2 separate regions of the Homo sapiens genome follow, and region 2 is linked to region 1. The links are contacts of gene promoters, found by promoter capture Hi-C in blood cells and fetal thymus (Javierre and others, 2016). All regions are on one chromosome and are shown on one strand. The core of a region is centred on a gene start or on the middle of the fragment in contact, and the rest is flanking DNA. Distances in the headings are between cores, read along the strand shown.

What was found. Contacts are between HindIII fragments. The CHiCAGO score rates a contact against its expected background, and 5 or more counts as called.
Region 2: a contact is called between a fragment that was not itself captured here and the fragment with the promoter of KRT83 in region 1, in 3 of 17 cell types (naive CD4 T cells, M1 macrophages and total CD4 T cells). The highest score is 5.8, in naive CD4 T cells.

The regions. Positions count from the first base shown.
Region 1 is chr12:52,318,666-52,323,670 of GRCh38, reverse strand. KRT83 (keratin 83) reads left to right here and starts at 2,273. Exons shown (of 9, transcript NM_002282.3): 1 at 2,273-2,719; 2 at 4,307-4,515. The coding sequence starts at 2,336. The HindIII fragment of the contact is 9,694 bases long and covers 2,076-5,005 here.
Region 2 is chr12:52,169,015-52,174,019 of GRCh38, reverse strand. KRT80 (keratin 80) reads left to right here. Exons shown (of 9, transcript NM_182507.3): 5 at 256-420; 6 at 857-982; 7 at 1,602-1,822; 8 at 2,307-2,362; 9 at 2,498-5,005. The coding sequence ends at 2,622. Among named protein-coding and RNA genes, the nearest start is that of KRT80, 20 kb to the left of the region's middle. The HindIII fragment of the contact is 4,944 bases long and covers 1-4,926 here.

The DNA.
Region 1 (5,005 bases), core at 1,024-3,523:
CAATCAGGGCAGGGGTGGGCATGGTCATGGCTCCCCCATCCCAAGGAGGTCATGTGTCTACACAGAGCCCCTCGGTGGAGGGGTCCAACATGATCCAAGCCTGCTGGATTGAGACAGATGAGCCAGGTCAGAAGACAGCAGCGCAGTTTCCAGCATCGTGATGGAGAAATGCTTCACAGAGGGTTCACTGCCCTGCAGTCCTCAGCATTTCACCAAGAAACAGATCCCCCATAATCATTGGATATGTGTGGAGAGCATTCCAGGTGCTCACTGGTTCCAGTGTGGGTGGGTGAAGAGCCTGGTCTTTCTTGGCTGTCTAGCAGATGTTTGACCCAACCAAGACTGAACATGACAGCACCAGCCAGCCCAGCCTCCCTCAAAGATGCTCCCAAAATCCCACTAGCCACTCAGCTGCAGTCAGCCACCCCCAGGCCCCCCAGGTACCCTCAGGCTGTGCCTCCCTGGTGTGTCTTTCACACCAGGATCCCCTATCACACAGCCCACACCCCCAGAGTTCCTGCCCCAGACACAAGACTCTGGAAGCCTGTCCACAGGACCCAAGAAGAGAGGCTAGGAGAGTCCTTTTTTTGGATCCATGGCAGATGTCCAGCTCCCTAAGAGATTTCAACAGCACCATCGCCTGCCCTCCCTCAGGCCCACAGAAGATGGGCCCCTCTTCCATCATCCCCAGATCCCCACTCTGGGATATAACTGGCCCACTCATCCTGAGCGGGAGTGGGAAGGGCAAAAGATGAGAGTCACAGGAGGGTTACTATTAGCCCAGAGTGGGTCAGTGTTGGGTTGTGGCTGGGTCAGGACACAGGTCCATCAGTGGAGTCCTCCTCATCCTCTCCTGACGAAAGCAGTCCAGAGATGTGTGTTTGGAAGGGTTGATGGGCTCAGGTCCTCGGGTTAAGGCAAACCTCCTGGCTCGGTCCGACTGTCCATCCATCAAAGCCATTGCCTGTCCTAACCCAAAGGAACAAGGGCCCAAAGTAAGAGAGCTTGGCTTTAGGAACAGCCACATGAGCTAGCACCCTTCTCTCACCCAGTGTGTTCTCTGAGGTGAGAGAGTGATCTCATTTAAGGACCCTGCTGATGTCCCTCACCTCCCGCACCTTCCCTCCTTCCTGGTGAGTACATACACCCCAAGACCCCATCACTGAGCTTCCCTGCTGGGAACCTAAAGAACACCAATCAGCCTGGACATTGTGAGGGCCTTCCCCCCATCTGTGGCTTCTCATCTTTCCCCCTAGCCAAATGTTGGCTCCCCCACATGCATGCTACCTCCAAACACCCCAGGTCTCTGTAGGATTTCCAGAACCTAGCACAGTGGCTAGTGCATAGTTGGTGGGCACCAAATAAGTATTTCCTGAATAAATGAATAAATGAATAAATGAATAAATGAATACACATAGTCTAGTCTGCAAATCAGAGCCAGACTCTTTTCTGGTCATCTCTCAATCCTGTACTACCCCACCCCAATCCTCCTCAAGCCCAGGTCCCCACTCTCCTCCATGAGTCCCTGGAGCTCTGAGGTATTCCACACTCCCCGCTCCTGATCCCATCAGCAATGACACCTGGAACTCTGAAGCATAGCCCTGGCACTGTCCTGAACTCTCTGAATCAGTTTCTTCCATGTCCCAGATGGTGTCCCTGCACTAGGAATACCCAAAGTGCAAAGAACATGCCCTCCTCCCACCCCAAATCTCTACCCCCACTCCCATCCTTGACCAGGCTCTGAGCAGGAATAGGATAGGAGCGGCCAATCTTGACAATGAGGAAAGGAACCCGCCTTTGAGAAAAAGACAGGAAAGCCTACAGCAAGAGGTTGTCTCAGAGGCAGCCCCCTCCTTGGGACAGGCCAGCCACTCCACCCCAGGGCTTGGCCATGGGTCCAGGGCCCATAGCCTAGCTCTGCCCCTTTCAGAACAGGGTTCAGAGAGCAGGCTTTACCCCAGGTCACTGCACCCATTCCCCTCGCTTGGACCGCAGAATGCAACTAATGCTTTCAGGAACCCCTCTCCCCGCTCCACAGCAGTGCCAGTGGGAGGGGCAGGAGCAAGGAGGAAGCTTATAAAGGGCTTTGAAGATGAAACAGGGCCCGTGGCCAGGGATTGTTGATGCAGCCACACTGAAGAGGCAAGCAGGGTTCTAGCTTAAGAGGCCAGGGTGATGCCAAGCCAATAAAATTCAGCTATTGTCTCTTTGCTCCCTCTTTTAACACCAGCTGCCCCTGGCACATAAAAGGGCCTGCCATCAGCCAGGGAGCACAGGCCCTTGGTTCCATCCTCTGCCATCTACTCCACTGTTCAGACACCTCCTAACCTCCGTCATGACCTGTGGCTTCAACTCCATAGGCTGTGGGTTCCGCCCTGGAAACTTCAGCTGTGTCTCTGCCTGCGGGCCCCGGCCAAGCCGCTGCTGCATCACCGCCGCCCCCTACCGCGGCATCTCCTGCTACCGCGGCCTCACCGGGGGCTTTGGCAGCCACAGCGTGTGCGGGGGCTTCCGCGCCGGCTCCTGCGGACGCAGCTTCGGCTACCGCTCCGGGGGCGTGTGCGGACCCAGCCCCCCATGCATCACCACCGTGTCGGTCAACGAGAGCCTCCTCACGCCCCTCAACCTGGAGATAGACCCCAACGCGCAGTGCGTGAAGCAGGAGGAGAAGGAGCAGATCAAGTCCCTCAACAGCAGATTCGCGGCCTTCATCGACAAGGTGGGTGTCGTCCTGGATCACACCCTTCCTGAACCCCTACTCATGTTCAGAACTCAGGCTGGGCACTGACAGGGAAGTCAAAGGCAAGAACTTGCCCACAGAAGTTCCCAGGCCAAAGGGAAAGGTAGTCATACTTCTAGGACACAGACAGAAAGACAAAAATGGGACCGGGAGCTACCAGACTGATGGGGGAGATTAACTGAAAACACAAAAGCAGAACGAGGGGCAGAGCCTTCCACACTGAGTGATAATATCACCTAGTGAGCAAAGGACCACTGTGTGGGCGCTCAGGGCATTTGAAGCCAAATAACTGCTTAAATGCCAAGGAGATGCTGTCTCCATCAAGGCAGGGCTAATAAGTGTGGTGCTGGAAAACTGTCTGGAAGTGGGTCTCGTGGATGGCACAGAACTCTTTCTATACCACACAGTGATTTGGCCACTGAGCAGGGTCTAGAGTATTTTGTCCAAGCCACTGTTCCTGGGGCTCAGGATCCAGGGGTGAGCAAGAGTCATGGTCCCCATCCTCACAGGCTTTATGGGGAGGCAGGCAGTGCACAGTCTGGGTTTGGTTGAAACCATCTGTGTAGTCAGTGTCCAACTAGAGTTTGCAGCCACCTTCTCCACTGAATCCAGGCAACCACCATGTGGCAGTGATGTGAGAGACTGGGAGAAAAGGCTCTGACTAGGAACATGTTCTGGGGTTGGAAAGAGCCCTCCAGAGCCAAAACCTCAAGAGAGGAGTCACACTAGAGAGATGCCCACCAGAAAGGATCGGGAAAAAAAAATGTGGAATTTCTAATAGCATGAGAGACCAAGGATAGCATAAGATAGGACCTACCAAGGGTGTGGCCAAGTTATTAGACAAAAGAAGCTGAGTGGAGTAGTGGGCCAACCTCATCGCTGGGAGAGGGATGTTCCTATAATTGTCAAAGGGAGAGAAGACACCCCCTGCAGCGCAGAAGATCGGAGTTTGAGCTCTTCTCTGCCACTGTGAGCTCTCAGGCAGTCAGGGAACCTCCTTGGCCTCATCAGTAAAATAAGGGGGTTGGAGCACAGGACATTCCTACTCTCATATTGCAGGTGACTATTATTCTAATTGCATTGTTGTTGTAGGGTTTGAATAATTGGCACATGCTTTATTTTTCAACTTTTACAGTTTGCCTTTCTAAAAAGGTCCACCTGGCTTGGTGTGATTGAACAGCAGTAGCTGTTCAGTGTGGGGTGCCTTTCTGTTAAAGGGTTCTTTTAATCCTCATAGTAAGGTGAGCTTTAACCTCGCCACTCTACAGAGGAGGTGAGTGCTTTATCCAAGGGCACAATGTTAACAAGTGGCAGCAGAATCTGGACTCTTCAAGCATTTTCCATGACACCAGGTAAACTGACTTAGAAGAGATTAACTCCCAGGAAGAACTTCCAGGTGGTGAACTGGTTAAGCCCTGGTGGCATTTTTGAGAGAGATGACATAACGCCTTCCAGGGAAGACTCTGGGTCAGAGAGTTGGGGGCTTTCAGGCCCTCGTGCTGGGAACCCCTCTTTGTCCTCTGATGCTGCAAGAAGAGGTTCTTAGGCTCTGCCTCTGGGTGGCAGGTGCGCTTCCTGGAGCAGCAGAACAAGCTGCTGGAGACAAAGCTGCAGTTCTACCAAAACCGCGAGTGCTGCCAGAGTAACCTGGAGCCCCTGTTTGCTGGCTACATCGAGACTCTGCGGCGGGAGGCCGAGTGCGTGGAGGCTGACAGTGGGAGGCTGGCCTCAGAGCTCAACCACGTGCAGGAGGTGCTGGAGGGCTACAAGAAGAAGTGAGTGTGGGCAGGAGGGGTTCTGGGCACAGGAAATAGCATGGTGGCAGCTCCCTGAGCCCGGAGGAGTATCCAGTCTGCAGCTGGCATCTCTGCCTGAGAGTGGAGAAGAACCTGTACCCCCTGTTTGAGACACAGGGGTCCCTTGGGTGTGGGGGATGGAGGCTCAGCTTGTCTTTCCACCAGCAGATCAGGGAAACAATGCTCTCTCCCTTTCTCCATCCATTTTTCACAAAAACTTGTATTCCTGGGTCCCTTTGAGACCAGATCTCAAAGTCCTGGACATGTGTCTTCCTAAGTTTGCTCTCTCACTCAGCTAACACTATCTGATCACCTACCACATGCAGCACGCTGTGCTGGTGATAGTGACACAGGGCCACGCAAGCCACACAGTGCGGGTTCTTGTGGAGCCTGCAGTCTGCTGGAAGGCAGTCATGACAGAGCCACAGATCTAGCCCTTCAGCTACAAAGTGTGATATATGGTATGAAG
Region 2 (5,005 bases), core at 1,205-3,704, 150 kb after region 1:
CCAACAGTCCCAGCCTGCCCTCCACTCAGATAGGGGGACTGTGGGTGGGTGAGCAGTGGGCAGTGAGCTGCCTTCCGAGAGTCCTGGCTGGGGAGACGTGGCAGGGAGGCATTCGGCCTTCCATCATCTCTCCAGAGGGACAGGAAGGGAGCAGCTCCACTCTCCGCTCACCCCGGGGACAAAGTGACTGTGTGGGGCTGAGGGTCCTTGTGCCCTCCCCACCAGCCCTGAGCCCCCACATCTGTGCCCGGTCAGGAGCTGAAGGACCTGGCAGCACAGGTGAAGGATGTGTCGGTGACCGTCGGCATGGACAGCCGCTGCCACATCGACCTGAGCGGCATCGTGGAGGAGGTGAAGGCCCAGTATGACGCCGTCGCGGCTCGCAGCCTGGAGGAGGCCGAGGCATACTCTCGGAGCCAGGTGGGGCTGACCACACAGGGCACGAGAAGCAGCCTGGACAGTTCTCTGGGTGGCAGGAAGGGCTGGACTGGTGATGGCTGAGGTTGCCTGCAGCTCTCTGTCCTGAAAGTCTATGAGAGAGGAATGGAGAAGCACAGGGACGGGGCGGGCGGGGGGAGACCACAGAAGCTGGTCTGTGCCCTCCAGGAGTTCAAGGTGGTGCTGTTATCAGCAATGCTAGGCCAGATGTGGGCATGGCCCATGGGGCTCAGCTAGGGCAGCCAGGAGAGGCCACCCAGAAAGGGAGGTGGAAGGGGGAGCTGAGGGAGCCTGGCGTGGCGTGGTGGGCTGCAGAGTTGGAGATGGGACTGGAGGATGCAAGAAAAAGCAGAGGCGGGTAACAAGTGCTGGGAGCGGCACTGAGCTGCCCCTCACTGAGACCTCCATGTACCTCCAGCTGGAGGAGCAGGCCGCCCGCTCGGCCGAGTATGGGAGCAGCCTCCAGAGCAGCCGCAGCGAGATCGCGGATCTCAATGTGCGCATCCAGAAGCTGCGGTCCCAGATCCTCTCTGTCAAGAGCCATGTGAGTATCTGGGGGACGCGCCTGGGGGCGGGGAGGAGAGCAGGGAGACACACAGTCATGTGTGCTGAATACAGGCAAGACATGACTGAGTGACCCTGTGTGGGTCGCTTAGCGCCTCTGTGCCTCAGTTTCCTAATCTGTCAAATGGGATAATAGCACAGCCTCCTAAAGTAGTTATGAGGCGCTCTGCATACAAAAATACTCTGTAATCTGGTCAAGGCTGCTGGAACGTTAGAAAGCCCCCACACTACACACACCCAGAGCCCACTGCCTCCCTCCTGGGAACCCCCACCAACTACACAGAGAGGAGGGAGTAGAGGCCTAAGTCCCAGCTTCCAGCCAGGACAAACCTTCAGGGCAGGTGCTGCCCCATAAGGACAGCCGGGACAGGCTCCTTTAGTGGCTTGCGGTGCTTTCCTCTGGCCTTGGGAAGGTGCCTCTTCAGGTCTAACTGAACTCCCTCTTGCTGCATGGCAACCAGTTACCACACCCAGAAATGCCATTGCTCAGCCCTCCCTCCCCACACCTACCCCCACCAAGGACAGAGACGACTCCTGGCCCTGGCCCGCTCCTCCTTCCCCTGCTCACAGGCCCTTTCACTCTGTCCTCCTGGCTGCAGTGCCTGAAACTGGAGGAGAACATCAAGACAGCTGAGGAGCAGGGTGAGCTGGCCTTCCAGGATGCCAAGACCAAGCTGGCCCAGCTGGAGGCCGCCCTGCAGCAGGCCAAGCAGGACATGGCGCGGCAGCTGCGCAAGTACCAGGAGCTGATGAACGTCAAGCTGGCCCTGGACATCGAGATCGCCACCTACAGGAAGCTGGTGGAGGGCGAGGAGGGCAGGTGAGAGCCAGGGCTGGTGAGGAAGGGCTGCAGGGGAAGGAGGGCTGGAGGCCCAGGCCTACACAAAGTCAGTTCTCCTTTCCAATATGATACAGTGAGCCTACCAGGCCTGGGTTTAAGTCTTGGCTTAGTCACTTACAAACTGGGACCTTGGCCCAGTTCATTTCATCCTGTTTCCCCATCTGGAAAGTGGGCTGATCATAAACATGGTTCACCTGTGGCAGGGATGATTCATGTGATTATGCCTGCAAATGCCTGTCAAAACTCAGTGCTCAATGCTATTAGCCATTTATGCCATGGAGATGGGACAGAGGCCCAGGAAGGACAAGCTGGCTAGCCAGGGCCACACAACAGGGCAACCCCAGGGCTGGGAGTGACCACCAAGAACTACCCTCCACTTGCCAGCCCCCAGGGGAGTTTAAGCCACAGGCTCTCTTCGCATCCCATCATATCCCTCTCCCACCCCCCCGTCCCCCACCCCCAGGATGGACTCGCCCTCAGCCACTGTGGTCAGCGCTGTGCAGTCCAGGTGCAAAACCGGTGAGTCCTCTTGCCCCGAGAACCCATGGTGGGGTGAGGGTGAGGGTGTAGGGGATCATGATCCTAAAGGCATCATTTTAAGTGGCTCCCAAACCTCCAGCCCCTTCCCTCCCCTACCCCTTATGTTCCCTGTAGCTGCCTCCAGATCAGGCCTCTCCAAGGCCCCCTCCCGAAAGAAGAAGGGCAGCAAAGGCCCCGTGATCAAAATCACCGAAATGTCAGAGAAGTACTTCTCGCAGGAGTCGGAGGTCTCAGAGTAAGGCGGCTGGACCCCAGGAACCCCAGGGCACTCCACTGCAGCAGGAGGGACTTAAGCTAGACTCAAGAAAGCAGCTTGGAGCCTCTAGGTTGAGAAGAGAGGCAAAACCTGATATTGAACTGAGAGAGGGGTTCAAAACTGACTGTGTTTTGTGGGCTGCCAGGGTGGGAGAGGAGCATCACCAGCTCCTCAGAGCCACTCCGCTCCATATCAGTATCTCACAGTCCCATCCTTCCAACCTTCTGGCCAGAGGTTTTCCTGATGGGTGAGTCGGAATTAGGGGTCAGTTTTGTCTCCACCTCCTCGCTCCTCTGAGGCTCCTCCTCCAGCATCAGGCTCTGCCAAGGCCCCTCTGACTCTTGCCCAATCCTTGACCTTGACTCCTATCTCAAGCCTTGCCTTGTCTCTGCCTCGGAACTGGGACTGGGACTGGCTCATCCACCTATGTGCGGGAGCCGAGGAGGACGGCGTGGGCCCTGTCCTGTATCTGGAATTCCTGGGAAGGCTGGCTGCTGAAGACCCTCTTGGCTTTCCCGTGCTCTTTGGGCTCCCCAGAGACCTGACAGTATTAGGGAGTGAAGGGAGGAGGGGCCCTGGCTATTTGGGACCTAAGCCTAGGCCCCAGAGATCAGCCCGAACACCCGCATCCCTTCCTCCTCCCATGGGTCCCTCCCAGTAGGCAGTAGTCAGAACTGGATGGGCTGCCCCCAGCCAGCTCCCAGCAGCTTCTCCGGAAGCTGCTCTTGCCATAATCAACTCCCTGGGAGTGGAAGCCAGATGGCAGCTTGAGATTGGGCAGGAGCATTCGATCTTCCTTTCACCTCCCTGCCATGCTGGGGTCCTACCCAGCCTGGATCTGAGCTCTGTGCCCCCAGCCGGGTTGTTCCCAGCCTGAGCACCGGGCTTTGGTGCACCAGGCCTTGGAGACCCCTGGTCCCACCCCTGCCGTGAAGCCCCAGGCCCACTTCCCAAGAATCTCACTTCTCAGGGCCTCTGTTCTCCTCTCCACTGGGCCAAATAGCCTGGCCCTCCCCTCCTTGGCATTCATGGGGGAGCCCAGGAACCCCCCACACCTATGGGGTTAGAGCTCCTCCTTTCTTCTCACTCCTTCCCCTTCCTCCCTCCATGCCCACTCCCCCTGCCTCCAGCAGGCCAGGAAGAAGGCACAGTCCAGGCAAGTCTGGGAGCTTCCAAGCCCTTGAGGTCCAGCTGTGGGGCCCAAATGACAGCCTTACAAGGGTTCTACCAGAGAGGAAAATTCCACATCCCACCAGAAGACAGGGGTGTTGGCAGGCATACTCCTATCTCCTCCTCTTGGCTCTCAATGCTGAGGCTTGCAGAGGCATCCCAGCGGCACCAGCCTCCCACTGCACAGCTTCCTTCCCTCCTTCACTCTCCTCTCCCCTCCCTGCCCCTTGCCTCACCTCCTCTTCTAGACTGCATTAGATTCATTCATCTCATTTGCCAGGACATGTTGGCCAGAGGTCTGGGCCCATCCCAGGCCTCAAGGCCCTCCAGGCCTGTGGGGAGCACTGGAGGGTTACTGACTCTCTGGCCATGGGAACTCAGAGATTCTCATCCCCAAAGTCCCAAAAGAGGGTGCTGATTGGTGCTTTTCCTCAGGCTCTTCATTGGTTTCCAAGGGAGCAAATCCTCAGTGGGGATACAAGACATATAAAGTATATATTATTTTTTCATAACTTATGTGGCTTTTAACTTATTGCTTCCCTTCCTGTTTCTGCATGATCAGTCTGTATGTACTATCTGGAAAGATAACACATACTCCAGCCACCTCACCTGATTGGCTATCTTGGGGCCATGTCCCCTTCTTGCTGCCACAGGATGAATAAAGTGTTGAGATTTGTCTATGGAGAAAGCTGTGTGTCTGTTTTTATCTCCCCTCTCAGGACCAGTCAGCCACTGGTCAATCAGGCTGATCATGGAACATTAGGAATTCTCCAATTAAGGGAGAAAAAGTCCAGGGACTTAGTTATATCTTCAGACCAGTGCAGCTGGTACACACAAAGTTCTCCTGTCTCACCATCTGATATGGTTTGGATGCTCGTCCCCTCCAAATCTCATGTTGAAATGTAATTCCCAGTGTTGGAAGTGGAGCCTGGTGGGAAGTATTTGGATCATGAGAGAGGATCCTTCATGAATGGCTCAGCACCATCTCCTTGGTGATGAGTGAGTTCTCACTCAATTCACATAGATATGGTTGTTTAAAAGAGTCTGAGACCTCTCCCCTCTTTCTCGCCATGTGATATGCCTGCTCCCCCTTCACCTTCCGCCTTTACTGTAAGCTTCCTGAGGCCCTCACCAGAAGCTGAGCAAATGTTGGTGCCATGCCAGTACAGCCTGCAGAATTGTGAGCCAAAATAAAT